Linked DNA regions of Homo sapiens: regions 1, 2, 4, 5, 6 and 7 are each linked to region 3. The links are contacts of gene promoters, found by promoter capture Hi-C in blood cells and fetal thymus (Javierre and others, 2016). All regions are on one chromosome and are shown on one strand. The core of a region is centred on a gene start or on the middle of the fragment in contact, and the rest is flanking DNA. Distances in the headings are between cores, read along the strand shown.

What was found. Contacts are between HindIII fragments. The CHiCAGO score rates a contact against its expected background, and 5 or more counts as called.
Region 1: a fragment that was not itself captured here is called in contact with the fragment with the promoter of MTHFD2 in region 3 in 1 of 17 cell types (activated CD4 T cells); the score reaches 7.8 in activated CD4 T cells.
Region 2: a contact is called between a fragment that was not itself captured here and the fragment with the promoter of MTHFD2 in region 3, in 7 of 17 cell types (activated CD4 T cells, naive CD4 T cells, total CD4 T cells and 4 more). The highest score is 7.9, in activated CD4 T cells.
Region 4: a fragment that was not itself captured here is called in contact with the fragment with the promoter of MTHFD2 in region 3 in 2 of 17 cell types (naive CD4 T cells and total CD4 T cells); the score reaches 6.3 in naive CD4 T cells.
Region 5: a fragment that was not itself captured here is called in contact with the fragment with the promoter of MTHFD2 in region 3 in 1 of 17 cell types (naive CD8 T cells); the score reaches 5.3 in naive CD8 T cells.
Region 6: the fragment with the promoter of DGUOK-AS1 here is called in contact with the fragment with the promoter of MTHFD2 in region 3 in 14 of 17 cell types (fetal thymus, activated CD4 T cells, naive CD8 T cells and 11 more); the score reaches 14.4 in fetal thymus.
Region 7: a contact is called between a fragment that was not itself captured here and the fragment with the promoter of MTHFD2 in region 3, in 10 of 17 cell types (total CD4 T cells, naive CD8 T cells, total CD8 T cells and 7 more). The highest score is 9.5, in total CD4 T cells.

The regions. Positions count from the first base shown.
Region 1 is chr2:74,036,439-74,039,512 of GRCh38, reverse strand. All of the region lies in intron 3 of TET3 (tet methylcytosine dioxygenase 3), which reads right to left. Among named protein-coding and RNA genes, the nearest start is that of TET3, 53 kb to the right of the region's middle. The HindIII fragment of the contact is 6,428 bases long and covers 1-3,074 here.
Region 2 is chr2:74,411,210-74,414,136 of GRCh38, reverse strand. No RefSeq gene overlaps it. Among named protein-coding and RNA genes, the nearest start is that of C2orf81, 8.9 kb to the left of the region's middle. The HindIII fragment of the contact is 6,860 bases long and covers 1-2,927 here.
Region 3 is chr2:74,197,194-74,199,893 of GRCh38, reverse strand. MTHFD2 (methylenetetrahydrofolate dehydrogenase (NADP+ dependent) 2, methenyltetrahydrofolate cyclohydrolase) reads right to left here and starts at 1,279. Exons shown (of 8, transcript NM_006636.4): 1 at 1,152-1,279. The coding sequence starts at 1,252. RefSeq lists silencers at 521-610, 741-1,020, 1,211-1,350 and an enhancer at 1,059-1,617. The HindIII fragment of the contact is 3,357 bases long and covers 1-2,700 here.
Region 4 is chr2:74,369,172-74,372,166 of GRCh38, reverse strand. It overlaps DCTN1 (dynactin subunit 1), which reads left to right. Exons shown (of 32, transcript NM_004082.5): 8 at 439-630; 9 at 991-1,188; 10 at 1,342-1,546; 11 at 1,623-1,701; 12 at 1,822-1,981; 13 at 2,098-2,202; 14 at 2,676-2,867; 15 at 2,953-2,995. Among named protein-coding and RNA genes, the nearest start is that of DCTN1, 9.6 kb to the left of the region's middle. The HindIII fragment of the contact is 6,181 bases long and covers 1-2,995 here.
Region 5 is chr2:74,432,942-74,435,724 of GRCh38, reverse strand. All of the region lies in intron 1 of RTKN (rhotekin), which reads left to right. Among named protein-coding and RNA genes, the nearest start is that of RTKN, 7.6 kb to the left of the region's middle. The HindIII fragment of the contact is 2,783 bases long and covers 103-2,783 here.
Region 6 is chr2:73,980,170-73,983,106 of GRCh38, reverse strand. DGUOK-AS1 (DGUOK antisense RNA 1) reads left to right here and starts at 1,668. Exons shown (of 2, transcript NR_104030.1): 1 at 1,668-1,972. The HindIII fragment of the contact is 8,489 bases long and covers 1-2,937 here.
Region 7 is chr2:74,394,746-74,397,672 of GRCh38, reverse strand. DCTN1-AS1 (DCTN1 antisense RNA 1) reads right to left here. Exons shown (of 3, transcript NR_158174.1): 3 at 1-2,619. Among named protein-coding and RNA genes, the nearest start is that of DCTN1-AS1, 11 kb to the right of the region's middle. The HindIII fragment of the contact is 1,762 bases long and covers 608-2,369 here.

The DNA.
Region 1 (3,074 bases), core at 275-2,774, 160 kb after region 3:
TGTATTTCAGGACCCCAAAAAGTTTTAAGATGAAAAGGAAGAAAAAGGCCTATATATAAGTCAATGCCCTAAATCATATCAGTGCTGTGAAAGCAGTATCTACAGGGGCCTGTGGTGGCTCAGTATATACAGCTATCTGGGCAGGTGGGCAGGTGGGTGTCCAGGAAGGTTTTATCTCAAAGAAATCTCAGAGAGGCTGGAGAAAGTAGCAGGTATTTTGGAAGAAGGGGAAGAATTCTGCAGGAGTTCCAGATGGAAGGAATAGCATGTGAAAAGGCACAGAATCATAAGCCCTGGCAGGCTTGGAGATGCATAAGCTGTTGAGTGTATCTTGATCGCAAAGGCAGGGGAGGCAGGTGTGTGGACCACAGCCTGAATGCTACAGAGAGCAGATTTACATCTCAGGAGGGGCATTCAGGCATCTTGCAGAAGACAGACTGCAGGGTTCGAGGCTGGTGACCCAAAGACCAGTTAGGAGACTATGCAACTGTCCAGATTAGTAACAATAAGGACCTGAACTAAGGCACTAGCAGACAGATGGGGATGAAACGTGGTTATGGAGGTTAAGTGATTAAATTTAGCAGTGAGACAAGGAACAGAATCAATCCCTCCCTGAGAAAGTCCTCCTTGACCAGTCCTTTCCACCACAGGCTGCCCCAGAGCCTACAGTTACCGTGCACAGCCACGTTCTGTTAGGGATCTTTTCGTAAGAGTGTATGGTCAACTACACCATTTGCTCCTAGGGAACCAGGCATCTGCCACACCTTCAAAACCTACCGGAGTCTCTAGAATGCATTCAAAAAGCTCTGTCACTGCTTCCTCCCTAGGGACCTGGCTGGTGCAAGCCTCATCACCCCTATACTTTGAGATGACCCATGGAAGCTCTAGGCAGAGTTGGTGATCTCTCTGCTATTATGGCACCCATTACAATGCACACATGGTAGAGGTCTGCAAAGGCTACAGGGGCCTCCAGAGAAGCCCAAGGTGCTAGTGCTGCACATCTTACTGCCAACTTCCAGGTGCAAACCCCTTTTCCCTGCCCTCGCTGGGTCCTCACACCCAACCCCATCAGGTTTCTTCCCTGCTTCACAATATCACTGAAAGGGGGTATGCCCATCCCAGGCTAGGTCTTCCCCAAGTTGGAGGTGTGTTCCCATCACCTAGGGGCAGCAGGAATTTGTTACTAGGAGACTGAGAGGCAGGAAACATTACTCAGGCAGAGAAAATGCCCTTCTCAGATCCAAGAAGAGACATAACTCTTCACTACACTCCATGAAGAGTTCATATGTGCATACAGCATCGCCAACCCCAGTCACATTTCCCACCTTCAGAGAGCTGGGGACCCTGTGCTGAAGGTGACCCTGCACCCCGCCTGGCTAGCTCACAAGGTCCCCTGCCTCCTCCTCTACAGTGCACTGTCTTCTTAGACTCCCAAATCCCCAGAGCTGGTCCTCCAGACATCTGCAGGCATTCAACAGCAGCACCCTGCTCTCCCCACCCAGGGGACTCCAGAGCCCCCCAGATGCCAGGCAAGGCTGGAAAAGTGTGGAACGCCACTCCCCAAACACCTCGTTCAGTCAACAACACAGTGAAGGATACAGATATGACACCAGGTTTCCCAAATCCTTCCTTACTCTCAACACATCAAAACCAGATCAGCAATTCTCTATTAAAGGAAAATAGGGAAGAGAGAAGACAAGAATGTTATCTTGAAAGAGCAAAGTCCTGATTGGCTATACCTTCTTAAGGCCTTTAAGAAAGGGGAAGTTACAAGAGGAACAGAGTCTGGAGGGCTGTTTTGCTGACTGTCAGCAGTTACACACCATATTAGAAGAACCATGTCCAAGAAGGTGTTTTTGGCCAGAATGAACTAGCCTGTAGTCAACCTTCAGAGCCCAGTAGCCCATTCTCTGCAAAGGAATCTCCTGAAGCGAATTCTCATGGGACTCCAAGATAGTGGTGGCAACACCCCACCCTGCTAAGCCAGTAAACTCCACCCAGTACTTTCCCAACCACACATACCACCAGCTCAGCTACTCTGATCCACAGCAGCTGTTCAAGGGGCTGCTCTTTCCAGCCTCATCCTTTATCTCAGTCCTAGAGTTCAGAATCCACCTCCTTACAAAGCTAATTCCTTCTTCCTTGCCACCAAATGGATGGCCCCACTCTCTCTAATAGCAAATGGGTTGTATTTATGGCATGTTCTGTCTAGGGTTGATCAATTATTCATTTCTTAAGAGGATTCTCCCTTCGGAAGATTTATTGATAAAACTAATAAGCGAGTGCAGAAAGAGAGTTTTAGGGGAACCCTTGCAGAGGAGGTGCACATCTGCCTGTTCTTGCAGAAGTGAGTGTGTGCCCATGGGCACACTGGCTAGCCCAGTCCCATGTCTGCACCCTCCATACCCAAACTGGCCACCTCTGCAGACAGCAACTCCAGGATTATGTCTAACTTCTTGAGAGCATTATACGTTGGCAGAGGGTATTCTTATATGGGGGGAGGGGGAGGCAGTTGTTCTTGTGGTTACTACATGCATACCAGTAAAACATTTTAAAATCTAATTTTTTTTCCTACTACAAAATGGGCAGATACAGCAAATCTGTCAGTGGCTGGGGTGATACTTAGAAAAAAGCTGAAATGGGCCTAATTCCCTGAGGTCATCATATCTGGCAGAAGCACAGGACTTTGTTCATGTCCTCTGACCTAACAGTAACTAATGTGGGTTCGAGGAAGAAAGGAAAAGAAGGAACCAGGAAAAGTCTCTACGTGACTCTGATGGAACCCTCTTATGACAGGCAGAGTATCATGCAAATTGTCGCACATTCACTTATCTCATTTAATCACCACAGGCTCCTCCAAGGTGGAGATCAGAGATAAGGACACTAAACACAGAGAGGGCAAGTAATTGCCTCAAGATCACAAGGCAATGTGGAAGAGCACAGCCATTTTTAACCACTAAGTACTCTTAATTTCACTGGAAATGTAAAAGTAAACAAGCCAACAGAAGACATAAAAAAGCTACATGTGCCAATGATTTTCCCTCAAGCATGAACAGCAGAGAATTACAAACAAC
Region 2 (2,927 bases), core at 1-2,500, 210 kb before region 3:
CTCTCACTGAACCCCAAGGGGAGCAGTTATCCTGCAGGCCTAGAAGAAGATAGAACCAGGGTTCAGGAAATAACCCTCTCGCCACCCTTAGGAGACCCTGCATTAGGGCCAAAGCTGCCCCATTGCAGAGGCATTCTAGAGAAACCCCTGTCCCCCAAAGGAGTAGACATAAGGGCTGCCAGCGGGTCTGGCTCTGTAGAGAGAACTTCGAGTCTCCTTTCAGTAGGGGAGGAAGGAGAAGGCCCCGCATAAGCACAGAGTGATTCGAGATATGAAGAACTTGATTTCTTGCTTCCCTGGTCCCTGGAGCTTGGTCACTTCACCTTAGACTGCAAATCCAAATTTCACTTTTGAAGTTAAGGAGGAACTCTCAAACTCAAACAGTATATTGAACAAACTCAAGAGTCAGTGCCTCCTTAAATTTTATCTTAGGCTCCACACCTGCCTCATTGCTAGTCTCCACTCTGCCCAGATTTATCCTGCACCCACTTCCTCCTACAGCATTTCCCCAGCAGGCCCAGGAAGTTTCTGCTATGTTGCTGTGGGCTGCACTCAGCATCCTGGTCTGGGGCGCTGGCTCTGTCTTCCTTATTCTGGTCTTCTTCAACTACATGTGCAGCTCTGGCAGAAGTCTCATCCCTGGGACCTCCAGTGCTGCTCCACAGATCTGACTGGGAAAATAGCCATAGTGACTGGGGCCAACAGTGGTGAGTGCTCCTCCCACCCTGAATCCTCACTATGGGCCTCAGCCTCCAACAACTCTCACAGGGAAGGCAGGGAGGAGCATCCACTATCAACACCCTTGTCCCTCCCCTAGAGTGTCCCTTGTTCACTGTAGTCACCACCCAGCCGAAGTTGTCCTCCCACAGGCATCGGGAAGGTTGTATCCCAGGACCTAGCTCGGTGTGGGGCCCAAGTGATCCTTACTTGTCAGAGCAGGGAATGTGGACAGCAAGCCCTGGCTGAGATCCAAGCAGCCTCAAACAGCAACCGCCTCCTGCTTGGCGAGGTGGACCTTAGCTCCATGACCTCTATTCGGAGCTTTGCCCGGAGGCTTCTACAGGAGAATCCTGAGATACATCTGCTGGTAAACAATGCTGGAGTCAGTGGTATGTGCCTGGCTTGCTTCTCCAAACATGTTTCTGCAGTCTCCTTTCTAGCTCAGGAACTCTAAAACAGGTATCCTCAAAGCCTAGTCTATGCAATCTTGCCAAAACACTAATCCATACCCTCCCCTAAAAAGCTGACATTGAGTTATAGCCTTAAACTTCATTGCCCCCATCTTCACATGTATGTGCCCCTGTGGCATTTCTGCTGAAGGTAATATGTCCCTCCCAGACCTTGTCTCCCTCAAGGTGGTCCCTTTATCACTCAATGCCAGTGTTTTCATTTCCTCCCAGGATTCCGAAGACACTTACCCCAGGGGGCCTGGATCTCACCTTTGTCACTAACTATGTTGGGCCCTTTCTGCTCACAAATCTACTCCAAGGTAAGGAAGGATGGGCACCTTCTGTGCTGCCCTCTTCCCTATACCCCTGGCATTCTAGTAACTGTCTCCCAGGACCACCTCTTGCCTCTTGGCACCCAGCTGTTTGCTGAGTGGTGACCCAACACACTTTTTGTGTCACACATCAGGGAAGCCCAGCTGGCACAAGTCAGTATTAGAAGGCTGATAGAAGAATCATTCAGCCCAAAATATAATCAGCAAGGGGATATGAGATCCCAGACCTCCTTCTCCCATCCCCTAGTTCTAGCCAGACCAGTAGAGTAGTTTTTGCAATGAAGGCTTCTTGAGGGGGACACTAGGCACCAGAAACAGAGAAAGCAAGAAGACTCAGTTTCTGTTCTCAGGGTCGGCCAGAGGTGTAGGCCATACAGATGATACAGTTGATACATTACTGCCTTGGGCCTAAGTCCTTTGAAGAGGCCCTTTCTGATTGAGAAAGTTTGGCTCCTCCAGGGAAAGTTTCGGGGAGTGGGTGGCAGGAACATTCTCTCTGACATTTTCTCCTAGATTGTATAATAGCCCCTTTATTATTATTATTATTTTTTAATTACTCATCCCCTTGCAATGTGATAGCCTCCTTAAAAGAAAAGCAATTTTTCTTTTGGTCAGGTAATACATATCCAAAGTACAAAATTGAAAGTGTACAAAAGGATACAGAGGGTTTTTTTTTTTAAACTATTTTTCTCTTCTGGTACATAAGCCACCTGTTCCCCTCCTGAGAGGCAACTACTGTTGCCGGAGTCTCACGTATCCTTTAGCAGTCAACTAAATTAATCCCAATTGGAAAGTGAACAAAGGCAAAACTCTATGCACCTGCAAGTATGATTGTTTTTGTCCCTTTCCACAAATTGTAACATGTCACGACACTATCTGCATCTTGCTTAGTGACAGTTTCTTAAACTTCTTTCCTGTCTCATCTTCTCTAATCTATTCTCCCCACTGCCACATCGAGTAATCACCTTTCATCATGACACTTTCTTGCTTAAAATCCTTTGAAGGTAACCTCTCCTTTGTAGGATGAACTCTAAGCCCCTTCTCTACACTTAGAAGGCTGTGTGCTAGGCTGGGTGCAGTAGCTCATGCCTGTAATCCCAGCACTTTGAGAGGCTGAGGTGGGCAAATCACCTGAGGTTGGGAGTTTGAGACCGGCCTGATCAACATGGAGAAACCCCGTCTCTACTAAAAATACAAAATTAGCTGGGCGTGGTGGTGCATGCCTGTAATCCTAGCTACTCGGGAGGCTGAGGCAGGAGAATTGCTTGAACCCGAGAGGTGGAGGTTTCAGTGAGCCAAGACCGCGCCATTGCACTCCAGCCTGGGCAACAAGAGTGAAACTCTGTCTCAAAAAAAAAAAAAAAACCCTCTGCTGACTAAGAGCCTTGCCTTTTGCCCTTCCTTAACCCACCTCCTAGTCTCCAGC
Region 3 (2,700 bases), core at 30-2,529:
AGGGCTCTAACAATGCCAACAATGCCAGCGCTCTAATGACCGACCAAATCACCTTCCCAAGGAAACCCAAAAATGCAAACAGAGCTTTTCCTTTCCTCCTCCCCTGTATATTTTTCCCAATTTTGTTATTGTGGTAAAATTCACATAACATAAACCTTATCAACTTTTTTTTTTTTTTTTTTTTTTGAGACAGGGTCTCGCTCTGTCGCCCAGACTGGAGGGCAGTGGTGCAATCACGGCTCACTGCAGCCTCGAACTCCTGGGCTCAAGCGATTCTCGTGCCTCAGCCTCGGCGCGTGTCACCACGCCCGGCCCATCTTAACCATTTTTAAGTGCAGTTCAGTGGTATTAAATACGTTCATATGTTGTGCAACCATCACCACCATCCATCTTCAGAACTCTTCATCTTGTAAAACTGAAATTCTGCAAGTACCGCTGAAATATGGGTACTTGTCACTCTCCATTCCCCCTTTCCCTAAGGCCCTGGGAGCCTCCCGGATGTTTGCCACCTCTATGTACGCAGCCCGGCACTGACAGGCTCTGGTGGGCTGCAGCCAAAGCTAGGGTGCCCAGAGTCCGTTCATGTTCCTGGCAGAGCGGAGGCAGCGCGGGCCACTCCCACCGGCGGAGGGAGGAGGGCGGCGCGGGGACCCCGAGCAAGTCGGCTCCGCGATTTCATCAGCTGCAGCAGCGCCCTCCGCCGCTAGGGTCCCCGCAAGGACAACTCGCCGAGGGCTGCTCTTTTGGAACCCTCGCCTGTTCTCCCCCAGACGACTCTCAGCATCCCAGCCAGAGGCGGCCGGCGCTGTCGGAAGGCTCCGCGTAAACTGATGCCTTCGCGTTCCGCACGCCACCCCCGTCCCGCCCGCCGACTGGCCACGGGCCCCGGCGACGCCCCGAGTCGCAGGAGAGCGGCTCCCTCCGAAAGGCGGGCTTCGGGTACCAGCCCTCCGCGCCGAGGAAGCGCCCCAGTCGAGAGCTGCGGCGGCGCTCGGTGCCACGTCGCCCCGCCACACCCCTCAGCGGCCACCACCGCCGGGGCGGAGATGTTCGGGAAGGACTTCCCTCGGTGTCCCTCGGGGGCCCGGCGTGCCCCTCGCCCTCCGTTCCCCTCAGCTTTCCGCGCTGACCGAGCTCTGTGACCCTCTTACCGAACTGCCGCGAGGTGGAAAGGGCGAAGGCGAAGGGAGCAGCTGTGCGCGGGCTGCAGCAGCCGGGCAGCCAAAGCAGACATTAGAGAAGTCGCAGCCATAGACCGCGCCGGTGACTGCGCCGGGAGGGAAGCGCGCGCGCGGGCCACGCGGTTATACTGCGGCCTCGTGGCAGGCCCCGCCTCCCTCCGCCACCCATTGGTCCCTGCCGCATGCCACTGGCTGTCTGTTGAGCCAGGTGGAGCCGAAGGGGCCAACCGGTTTTCTTTATTAAACGTAAGCGAAGTCCGAAAGAGCCCTGCTTTTGATTGGAGCCAGAAGAGCCTGGAGCGAGGTCCTGTAAGGCGCTGAAGCCTCGGCAACGTGCCATGATAGGCTGAGGAAGTCAAACTCCTGCCTGACGCCGCTAGTGTCACCGAAGGCCGGACAACACAAGAGAAAAGTTCATTCATTCATTCGTTGAACAATTATATGAGCGCCTACTGTGTGCCAAGCACTGTAAAGGGTGGATGAAAAGACAAGCTGATAGAATGCCAACGAACAGAAGTAAAAGGAATGATGGAGTTAGAAAATCACCATTTTCCAAAATCAGTACATGGTGGCGCGTGACTACAGTACCAGCTACTGGGGAGGCTGAGGTGGAAGGATCACCTGAGTTCAGGAGGTTGAGGCTGCAGTGAGCTGAAGGCGCGCCACTGCACTCCAGCCTGGGCGACGAGAGTGAGACCATATCTCAAAACAACAACAAAAAAAGTAAAATCATAAAAGATATTCAGAGACAGACGTCAGGGTTGCATGTGCAACCCTGATTCAGAAGCAGCAATAGATGTCAAAACAACTGGGTGAAAGTTGGATGAGGAGCAAGATATTTACATATAGGGTTGCCAGATCTAGCAAATAAAAACACAAGATGCCCAATCAAATCAGAATTTTAGATAAACACTTTGGGAGGTCATATTTATACTTTATTTATGGCTTATCTGGAATTCAGATTCAACTGGGCTTCCTGTATTTTTTCCCGCAAACTTTTTGCATAGTCTCAAAGTATCTCTCCCGCAAGGAAACTTAAGGAGGGCAGGGCGCGGTGGCTCACTTCTGTAATCCCCAGCTCTTTGGGAGGCCAAGGCGGACGGATCACCTGAGGCCAGGAGTTCGAGACCAGCCTGGCCAATGTGTTGAAACCCCCGTCTCTACTAAAAACACAAAAAATTATCTGAGCATCGTGGCGGACGCTGTAATCCCAGCTACTGGGGAGACTGAGGCATGAGAATCGCTTGAATCTGGGAGGCAGAGGTTGCAGGGAGCCGAGACTGTGCCACTGCACTTCAGCCTGGGCAACAAAAAGACTCTGTCTCAAAAAACAAAACAAACAAACAAAGAACAGGGGAAACCAATCCTGTCAACACCTTGACCTTTACTTCTAGCCTCCAGGAAGGAAAGGAAAATGGTAAATTTACAGTGAAGAAACATGACAGTTACTGCTTCAACCACGTGATCAAAGTTAGCACCACCCAGTAAGGGAACACACATATATGCCTTCTGATAGGAT
Region 4 (2,995 bases), core at 176-2,675, 170 kb before region 3:
GGGGTGGAGGGCATAGACCTGGAGCAAGGATGGGACTGAGAGTATAATGGAGTTGCTAGAATGATCACAAGTGGGTCATAGATGGGGGTTCTAGGGAATAACGGATTCTGCTCTTAAGGGTAGTGCCAGAGCTAGGAGGAATGTGGAGTCAGTGCCAAGCGAGGAGCCTTATAATCTTATGTCTTTCTCTTATCTTTTCCTCCCTCTCTCCTCTGCCTCCATCCTCCCCCTGTCCTTTGTCACTATCTCTCTCTGCCTCTCTGTATCATTTTCCTTGTCCCCTTCATTCTTCTTTTCTCACTGTGCTTTGATACTCTCTTTCTGCTTTTTCCCTTTTCTGTCTCCTTCCCTTGCCATATTCTCATATTCTGTTTCTGTTCCTCTTACTACCCCTATCCTCTGCTTTCTTTCTGGTCTGCCTCTACCCTTTCTGAATAGCCCACGCGCCCAGCCAGTACTGGGGTGGCTGGGGCCAGTAGCTCCCTGGGCCCCTCTGGCTCAGCGTCAGCAGGTGAGCTGAGCAGCAGTGAGCCCAGCACCCCGGCTCAGACTCCGCTGGCAGCACCCATCATCCCCACGCCGGTCCTCACCTCTCCTGGAGCAGTCCCCCCGCTTCCTTCCCCATCCAAGGTAAGGCCTGGGGTAGGGGTAAAGGAGAATCAAGACACCCAGAGGCTTGTGGCTACCCGCTGTGTCTTGAAAATTTCCTGGGGTTGGCAAAGACCTAGAACTTGGATCAGAAAGGGTGAGGACATAGCCTATGGATATCTTGCTACTGACTGAGCCATCCTTTCCTTTCTTGCCCTTATGCCATACTTTCCCCATATATACTGTGCTACGGTTTCCTCTCAGATGTTCTTATGCCACTGACTGTTGGCCACCCTGGGGCTGGGTGATGTTTGCACACTTTCTTGTGTTCTTTGCGCCAGCTCAGTGTTGGTGGAGAGGAGGAGTGGGCTGTGCACAGACCGTGAGGCCTCTCCTTTGCAGGAGGAGGAGGGACTAAGGGCTCAGGTGCGGGACCTGGAGGAGAAACTAGAGACCCTGAGACTGAAACGGGCAGAAGACAAAGCAAAGCTAAAAGAGCTGGAGAAACACAAAATCCAGCTGGAGCAGGTGCAGGAATGGAAGAGCAAAATGCAGGAGCAGCAGGCCGACCTGCAGCGGCGCCTCAAGGAGGCGAGAAAGGTTTGACTCTGGATGAAGGGGGTGGCTGGGGCAGCCTGAGACCTAAGGAAGCATGCTGGAAACTAGACTGGAGCTGGAGCCTGGAACATACTGTGAGAAAGGCCTGGGGCATCTCTGTGCTGGTACCCCCTCCCACCTCCACTTCTTCCTCAGGAAGCCAAGGAGGCGCTGGAGGCAAAGGAACGCTATATGGAGGAGATGGCTGATACTGCTGATGCCATTGAGATGGCCACTTTGGACAAGGAGATGGCTGAAGAGCGGGCTGAGTCCCTGCAGCAGGAGGTGGAGGCACTGAAGGAGCGGGTGGACGAGCTCACTACTGACTTAGAGATCCTCAAGGCTGAGATTGAAGAGAAGGGTAAGGGGCCCACAGCTGCTGGGGGCCAAACGGTCAGGTGAGAACCATGCCTGAAAGTGTTAATGATCTTCTCCAGGCTCAGATGGCGCTGCATCCAGTTATCAGCTCAAGCAGCTTGAGGAGCAGAATGCCCGCCTGAAGGATGCCCTGGTGAGGTAGGGTCTTCAGTGCTTGCCTCTGATGCTTACTCTTGTGTCTCCAAATGTGTTAGAGCACCCATCGCCAGAGACTCTGACACGTGCTTTCCTCCTTCTGCCTTCCTCACATCCCTGCAGGATGCGGGATCTTTCTTCCTCAGAGAAGCAGGAGCATGTGAAGCTCCAGAAGCTCATGGAAAAGAAGAACCAAGAGCTGGAAGTTGTGAGGCAACAGCGGGAGCGTCTGCAGGAGGAGCTAAGCCAGGCAGAGAGCACCATTGATGAGCTCAAGGAGCAGGTCTGGGGAGCCCAGCCCCTCACCCAGAATCCCCCACCTGACTCTCCTATCAGTTGATGCCTCCTCTTTCTAGGTACCTTCCAGCAGCCCTTCTCCCTATCCTCCCCGTAACACAGGTGGATGCTGCTCTGGGTGCTGAGGAGATGGTGGAGATGCTGACAGATCGGAACCTGAATCTGGAAGAGAAAGTGCGCGAGTTGAGGGAGACTGTGGGAGACTTGGTAAGAGAAGAGCAGACCCCTGACATCTGACTTGGACCTGCTGAGAAAAAGATTGACATGTGACCCTTGGCCTTTGAGCAGGGTGTGCGGTGAGGGACCCAGCCTGGGCTTGCTACCCTGACCCTGCCTTTTTTTTTTTTTTTTTTTTCTGAGATGGAATCTCGCTCTGTTGCCAGGCTGGAGCGCAGTGGCGCAATAATCTCGGCTCACTGCAACCTCCGCCTCCCAGGTTCAAGCGATTCTCCTGCCTCAGCCTCCCGAGTAGCTGGTACTACAGGCATGCGCCACCATACCCAGCTAATTTTTGTATTTTTAGTAGAGATGGGGTTTCACCATGTTGGCCAGCATGATCTCGATCTCGACCTCATGATCCGCCTGCTTTGACCTCCCAAAGTGCTGGGATTACAGGTGTGAACCACCGCCGCTGGCCGACCCTGCCTTTCTTTAGCCCAAACTATGGTGTGGTGTCCTAGGAAGCGATGAATGAGATGAACGATGAGCTGCAGGAGAATGCACGTGAGACAGAACTGGAGCTGCGGGAGCAGCTGGACATGGCAGGCGCGCGGGTTCGTGAGGCCCAGAAGCGTGTGGAGGCAGCCCAGGAGACGGTTGCAGACTACCAGCAGACCATCAAGAAGTACCGCCAGCTGACCGCCCATCTACAGGTACATGCCCACTGTTTGCTCTCTGCCCACCATCACCCCAGGGCTTCCTTATGACCCAGCTGTGCTTCACTGTCTCTCCTCCTAGGATGTGAATCGGGAACTGACAAACCAGCAGGAAGCATCTGTGG
Region 5 (2,783 bases), core at 245-2,744, 240 kb before region 3:
TGGTCACATTAGTTCCCCTGTTTCAAATGGATGGCTCGACTTGTCTCCTGAACCAATCTGTACACTGTGATAGAGTTAGTCTTCCAACTCCTCTCTGAAGCTTTCCTTGATCACCTCAGCCAGAAGCAAACAGAGGCTGTTTCTTGTGAGCATGGTTGTGCCATGACATGGCACTTATGGAGCAGCCATTAAAGTCATCATCTCTCACCTCCCAGCTGGATTTTAAATGTACAACCTTGGACAGTACAGGGATGCTCCAGTGTTGACTGAGTAAATGCTGCTACCACCAAAGTATAGCGTCATTAAAATAAGCATCCCTGCCATTAATGTATACCACATGCTGGGCACTGTGCTAAGTGCTTTAAGTTCCTGCCTCACAGAATTCTCACAGCCCTAGGACTATTTCCATTCCTGATTTACAGATGGGGAAACTGAGGCTTAGGGAGGTTGAGCAAATTGCCCATTGCTTTTTAAGAAGCAGGACCTCCAGGGCTCCTTTCTAAATGAATGTTCCTGAGAATCCTGGTGTCTCTTCCAGGGCCTCTCAGCTGGCCCTTATCCACAGTCCCTCATTCCTGGACCACCTACCTTCCCATCCCCATTCCTTGCCTCTGACCTCATCTCCCAAGCTCAGAGGGCCGGTAGGTGGTGATTCTCTTAATTTGGGGTGTATAGGTTTCTGTGCAGCGTCAGTGAACACTGTAGGTGGTATGCTCCTTGTCCACTGATCCCTTGCCAACTAGATGTCCCTGGCATCACTTGAGTCTGAGGGATAACTCTCATTTGCCTTTCCTTCTGTCCATTCCCATGAGTTGGTGGTTCTCAACCTGGGTGTACCTCAGAATCACTTGGGGAGTTTTCCAAAAGTACATATGCCCCACTCCTAGAGATTCTTATTCTGCAAATCTTAGGTAGGGCCTGATCATTTTTTTTTAAACTCCAAAGATCTAATATTTTTTAAAGGAAATACAATTTCCAGTAGTACAAAGGGTATATATAAAGTATCATTAGGCTGGGCGCAGTGGCTCAAGCCTGTAATCCCGCACTTTGGGAGGCCGAGGTGGGAGGATCACTTGAGGCCAGGAGTTCGAGACTAGTCTGGCCAACATGGCGAAACCCTGTCTCTACTAAGAATACAAAAGTTAGGCCAGGCATGGTGTCTCACACCTGCAATCCCAGCACTTTGGGAGGCCAAGGCGGGTGGATCACCTGAGGTCGGGAGTTTGAGACCAGCCTGGCCAACATGGTGCAACCCCGTCTCTACTAAAAATACAAAAATTAGCTGGGTGTGGTGGCTCACACCTGTAATCCCAGCTACTCCGGAGGCTAGGCAGAAGAATTGCTTGAACCTGGGAGGCGGAGTTTGCAGTGAGCCGAGATCATGCCACTTCACTCCAGCCTGGGCAACAGAGTAAGACTCGGTCTCAAAAAAAAAAAAAAAAAAGAATACAAAACTTACTCGGGCGTGGTGGCACATGCCTGTAATCTCAGCTACTCAGGAGGCTGAGGCACAAGAATCACTTGAACCTGGAAGGTGGAAGTTGCAGTGAGCTGAGATCGCGCCACTGTACTCCAGCTTGGGTGACAGAGTGAGACTCGGTCTCAAAAAAAAAAAAGTATCATAAATGTTTTCCATCCCTGGCTCCCAGGCCTACAATCACTAATATTTTATGCATAAACATGCATATCTATATCTATGTATATATATGCATGCATACATATATATATATCATGCACAAATGGTAGTATGTGCAATACTACCCTTCTTTTCTCACATCATTTATTTTGGAGATTGTTTCATATCTGCATACATGTGCATATCTCTTTCCTTAATGTCTGCAATACTACAGGGTACAGATGTACTGTTACTTATTTAACCAATGTCCTACTGAAGGGGTTTTAATTTTGGTGTTTAAAACAATGCCACAATGAGGCCGGGCGCGGTGGCTCACGCCTGTAATCCCAGCACTTTGGGAGGCCGAGGTGGGCGGATCACAAGGTCAGGAGATCGAGACCATCCCGGTTAACACTGTGAAACCCCGTCTCTACTAAAAATACAAAAAAACAATTAGCCGGATGTGGTGGCGGGCGCCTGTAGTCCCAGCTACTTGGGAGGCTGAGGCAGGAGAATGGCATGAACCCCAGGAGGTGGAGCTTGCAGTGAACTGAGATCGTACCACTGCACTCCAGCTTGGGCAACAGAGCGAGACTCCGTCTCAAAAAAAAAAAAAAATGCCGCACTGAATATTTTTGTATGTATGGCTTTACCTAGATATATGTGAAATTATATGTGTAAGATAAACTGCTAGGTATTGGATAGCTGAATTAAAGGATATATGAATTTGTAGTTTTCATAGATTTTTTTCCAAATTGCACTCAAAAGAGGCTGAAGGAATTTATACTTCCAACCATCAAATGCATGAGGGCATCTCTATTTTTCTTATTTGTTTTATATATATATATATATGTTTTTTTTTTTTTTGAGCCAGAGTCTTGCTCTGTCGTCCAGGCTGGGGTGCAGTGGTGCAGTCTCGGCTCACTGCAAGCTCCGCCTCCCGGGTTCATGCCATTCTCCTGCCTCAGCCTCCCAAGTAGCTGGGACTACAGGCGCCCGCCACCACGCCCTGCTAATTTTTTGTATTTTTAGTAGAGACGGGGTTTCACCGTGTTAGCCGGGATGGTCTCGATCTCCTGGCCTTGTGATCCGCCTGCCTCTGCCTCCCAAAGTGCTGGGATTACAGGCGTGAGCCACCGTGCCCGGCTGTTATATATTTTTTTAGAGG
Region 6 (2,937 bases), core at 419-2,918, 220 kb after region 3:
GATGGCTCAGGAGCCAGAGAACTCTGGCTTCCAAACCTGAATCTGCCACTTGGTAACAGTGTGACCTTGGACTAGGTACTCCATCTTCAAGGGAATCCAAGTAAAAGACTTAATATAGGGCTCAATGAATGACAACAACTAATATTGTTTAATCCATATGACAACCTTGTGAGGTAGGTACTATCATCAAACCCATTTTATGGATAAGAAAACAGATTAAATAACTTGCCCAGGATCACTCAGCTAGTAAGTTGTGGACTTTCAGAGGAGCCCAGCAGCCATCCTCTTGTATTCTGTCTGGGTAAATGGCACCAGCAAGTTACTGTGTCATTTACTCTTTGCCAGCAATCTATGAGAGGGTCATTTCATAAAGCCCTCTCGTTTAGGTAACTGGGTGAATGCTGGTGCCATTCACTGTGACAAAATGCAGAAGGAAGGATGCCTGGGGATGGAGACATTCGTGTGAAAGTGAGTGTGCAACTGAGGGGGTGAGGCCTGGGTTTGAGATTTGGGCCCCATCAGTGAGCAGACAGCGAGGCCTCAGTTGTGGAGGAGCTCATCCAGGGTGGATATGGAGTGTGAGAGGGAAAGGCTGCCAGGACAGAGCCCCAGGGAATACCAGCCCATGAGGGACAGGAGCTGAGAAGGCGCCGCCAGAGAGGTTGGAGGGAACCCAGCCAGGCTAGAGAGCTGCCTGTCATATCTTCCCGGCCTCTGGAACCTTACACTTCGGCAGTCCTGTTGCTCATTCCTTCTGCCTGGGGAAAAACCCTTCCCACCCCACCCCTTCTCAGCTACCCCTTGTACCTGCCAAATTCCCACTCATCCTGCAAGTCATAAGTGCCAGTTCCATGAAACCTCCAGCTGCTCAGATGATTCCAGAGCCCCACCCACTCTCCCTCCACAGAAGTTTGACTCTCCCTGCCTAGGAACAGTTATCTCATCGGCGCTGGGCACTGGAATGGTTTGCATGTTTCTTTCCCAGTTACTACAAACTCCTGGAAGGGTAGCACGCTGTCTTTCACCTCATAACCCTAGACCTAGCAACCAACCACTGTGTTGAATGAAGAGACGAGGTGAGTAGACCCTAATGAATGACAGACCCCAGTAACACTGAAGACCCATAGGCTTCTTTCCTGCTTTCTTTACGACTTGCACAAACTGGTCAGGGGCGCCCAAGATAAAACAGCCTAAACTCCTCAGGTCCTGCCTTCTGGTTCTCCAGCCTCCTGGGCTGCTGCGGCTATTCCCATTCACATTGCGCTCAGGGCAGGAGAGCAGCGGGGGTGGGCGTAGGGATAGGGCGAGCCCTTCCTGGGGCTGCATTAGCCTAGACGCAGTGGTTCCGCCAAGAGAGCCCCGGCACCAGCAGCATCACCATCTCCTGGGAACTGGCTAGAAATGCAAGCTCTCGGCCCCATCCTAACCCCACTGAATCAGAAACCCTGGGGGCGGGCCCAGCAATCTGTTTTAATTAGTCCGTCAGGTGAAGTCAAGTTAGAGCAGCACTGGACTACAGCAAGCGGGGGAGAAGGAAGTTCAGCACCCAGGTGGAGACTGCGATTAGGCCCCCAAGGCGCTTAGAGCAGACAGAGGGAGAGAGGCTCCTTTTAGGAGCGGGTTTGGCGGGCGCCACCCCAAGCGGCCAAGGGCGGAGCCTCTTTTAGGCGACTGCTCCCGCGAGGTCAGAGCCGGGCTGTGCCGCTGCCCCCGGGACTAGAAAGGGAAATCTCCTTGCTAGAGGAGGAAGCCCTAAGAACTCAAGGGAGATAGGGGTGGCAGGGGCATTTCCCTGGATGCCTGGAGCATGGAGGGTGCGAAATAAGGAGGCTTTCCTACCCCATTGATGAGCTGAAGTTGATTCCGCACGGGGGAGGAAAGGGACAGGAAGCATAATTGGATGTGCAAGCCTGTGGTTCTTCAGGAAGTTAACACGTGGAACTAACACTGTTGGATGCTGCTGAACTCTCAGGTGATTGATGTGACTAACCTCCTCAGGTACTTGACCTCTCTCCTCTTCAGCTAATGAGTAATTTGTCCTTATTTAAGAATGAGATTTGCGTATGGGGACCTTTTGCAGAAATGTAAATACATCCCGATATCCATACCTGGGCTTGGTTTTAAAGACTGAAGGTATTGGGAGGTTTATTTGATTTTGGATGTATTACTTCTTTGGTCATGTATTGGCTAAAAATATTATCAACTAATATTTGCATAGATCTTTCCCTTTTCAAAGCACTTCCACACACATTATCCTTCTGTCTGCACAGAGTGGCAAATACAACAAATGTGCAAATGTTAACTTTCCTTATCTATGACATAGTTTTTATTATCATCACCATTTTACAGATAAGAGAACTGGCGCTCAGTGAGGTAATTTGTCCAAGGTCATTCACTACTACATGTCAGAATCCAGGACCTACAATCCAGGACCTCTGAAATTAGCCCACGAATGCTAGAGCTGATACCAGGCAGAAGCTGGCATTTTGCTCTCAGGGAAAGGGAGGTTCATTAGTGGGTTGCTTGTGGACCTGCATTGGTGAGTGTGACACGTGTAGGATATCTATGCTATGCGTTTTTGGGTTTTTTGTTTTGTTTTGGTTTTGGGTTTTGGTTTTTTTTTTTTCTTTGAGATGGAGTCTCACTCTTGTCACCCAGGCTGAAGTGCAGTGGCGCGATCTGGGCTCACTGTAACCTCTGCTGCCCAGGTTCAAATGATTCTCCTGCCTCAGACTCTCGAGTAGCTGGGATTACAGGCACCTGCCACCGCGCCCAGCTAATTTTTGTAGTTTTAGTAGAGACTGGTCTTGAACTCCTGACCTCATGATCCACCCACCTCGACCTCCCAAACTGCTGGGATTACATGAGTGAGCCACCGCGCCCGGCTACTACGTTTTTCAATAGCCCCGCAAATGTCCTCATGTTTTATAACTAGTT
Region 7 (2,927 bases), core at 239-2,738, 200 kb before region 3:
TGTTGATTTTATATCTAGTCACGTTGCTAAATATTTTCTAATCAATCCTAATAATTTACAGATTATTTTGGCTTTTTTTTTTTTTTTGAGATGGAGTTTTGCTTCTTCGCCCAGGCTGGAGTGCAGTGGTGCAATCTCGGCTTACTGCAACCTCTGCCTCCCTCCCAGGTTCAAGCAATTCTCCTGCCTCAGCCTCCCAAGTAACTGGGATTACAGGTACGTGCTAGCATGCCCAGCTAATTTTTGTATTTTTAGTCGTGATGGGGTTTCACCATGTTGGCCAGACTGGTCTCGAACTGCTGACCTCAAGTGATCCACCCACCTTGGCCTCCCAAAGTGCTGGGATTACAGGCGTGAGCCACTGCACCCGGCCTATTTTGGCCTTTTCCATGTAAGTCATCATATCATCTGTGAAAAATGACAGTTTAATTTCCTTCTTTCTAATCTTTATGTCTTTTATATACGTTTTTCTTGCCTTGATGCACTAGTTCAAATACAGTGTTGATCAGACTCAGAGATATTCGGCATCTTCGTATTCCTGATTTTAGAGAATCTAATGAGATCTTACATTCTTTTCAAGGATCTGTATTTGTTTTAACAAAAAGCTTTCATCTGTAGATTATTTTCTTTATGATTTCTACAGTGATTCACTTCTTTTTACTTTTGAAAATTCTTTTACTTTTTAAAATTGCATGGTCCTTGGTCGCCATTGTACTTTTTATGGTCGTTCTGGGTTATCCTACATTGTGGATTCTTCTTATCACACAGTTTTCAAGGAACCCCCAGGGGACCACCCTCATGCTGTTCCCTACCCCACCTCAGAAGGAAAAGGGGTACAGTAGGTCAGGCTCTCCCTAAGCCACCTTGTCTCCTCATACTCTACCTGTATGTTATAACAAACCAGGCAATGAACACACATGTGGTCCTTTCCTGAAGGGCCAGACCCTCTCATAAAAGTGTAACAAAGCAGGGAGAAGAAGGAGTGAAGCGCTATCTCTGTACTGACCAATATGGTAGCCCTTGGCCACATGTGGCCATTAAGCACTTGAAATGTGGCTAATGTAACTGAGAAATGGAATTTTAATTTTTATTTATTTTTAATTAATTTTATGTTTAAAAATGTATACATTTAAGTATTCAGTTCAGTTATTGGAAAATATGTTAAAATGTTTGAAATAAGTTGCATACCTGAATCTACTTTTCCAGGCTGAGCCTGGTGGCTCAGGCCTGTAATCTCAGCTTTGAGAGGCCGAGGCAAGAGGATCATTTGAGGCCAGGAATGCAAGGCCAGCCTGTCCAACATAGAAGGACCTTATCTCTGACATGAATGAATGAATGAATGAATGAGTAAATAAATAAATAAATCTACTTTTTCAATTGTAAATTTTATGTAGTCTAAACCAGATCAAGGATGTCCCATGAAAACTTAGCATCTGAATAGAGATGTACTATAAATGTGCAAAATACAGATCGCATTCTAAAGACAGTGCAAAAAAAGAGAATGTAAAATGCCTCATTTTTGTATTGATTACATGTTGAAATGACAATATTTTGAATATTCTGGTTTAAATAAAGTATGTTGTTAAAATTAATTTCACCAGGCTGGGCAACATGGCAAAAACCCATTTCTACAAAAAATATAAAAATTAGCCAGGCATGGTGGCATATGCCTGCAGTCCCAGCTACTTAGGAAGCTGAGGTGGGAGGATCGTTTGAGCCTGGGAGGTGGAGGTTGCAGTGAGCTGAGATCATGCTATTGTATCCCAGCCTGGGCAACAGAACAAGACCCTGTCTCAAAGAAAAAGAAATTAATTTCACCTTTTTTTTTTCTAACTTTTACAAACTGTCGCTACTAAAAAATTTAAAATTATATGTGTGGCTGGCTTATATAAAATTTTATCTTGGCTCGCACATGTAATCTCAGCACTTTGGAAAGCCAAGGCAGGAGGATCATCTGAGCCCAAGAGTTCAAGATCAGTCTGGACAACATAGTGAGACTCTGTCTTTCCAAAAAATTTTTAAAAATAGCCAGAAACGGTGGCCTTTGGTCTCTCAGCTATTCTGGAGGCTGATGTAGGAGGATCACTTGAGCCAGGGAGGTTGAGGCTGCAGTGAGCCATGATAGCGCCACTGCACTCTAGCTTGGGTGGCAGAGCAAGATCCTGTCTTTAAAAAATTAAGTTTTCTCCAGAAATTTTCTTTAAAATTTGTTAACCTATTTCCCAACTAAAAACAATTTTAAAATTTACATTTATGTCTATTGGGCAGTGCTGGTATAGCTAATCTAGATGCTTCTCTCTCCCACACATGTCCTCCCCCATGGCTTTGTCATCTTTGATTTACTCTCTATTGATTCCCCTCTCCAAGCTTTTCAGTCTGAAAACCCACCTTCTCCTGGAAAACAGCATCCCTTTCCTCAGGGGGAGGATTCTCCCATGGATTCTTCCCCACATTCTATAATGCCTAGGATTTCACCCAGGTAAGCACAGATGTTCTTCTCTGTTCAGCATCACATGTTGGGGGGAAGGGCTCTAGTTATGTGAACAGGAGTTTGGGGGTCCTTGTTCAGGTTCCCCATTGGAGGAAGCCAAAGGCAGCCTGGATCTCTTACAACAGCACCTATGAAGAAAAACACAGGACAAAGACAATATTAATTTTCCTTGAAGACCACTCAGCCTAATCAAATGTAAAAAAAAATCAATATTTCTCCTATTAGCACGTCCTGTCCTTATGATTCAGTAGGATCCCTTTCATGATGCTGAGAAACATTTTGGTCTTTCCTGAATCACCACCCCCATCCCACCTGAGGCCTGGCAGCTTTATATAAAAAACTCAACACACAGGTTTTTTTTTGTTTTTTGACAGTCTCACTCTGTCACCCAGGTTGGAGTGCAATGGCATGATCTCTGCTCACTGTGCAACCTCCG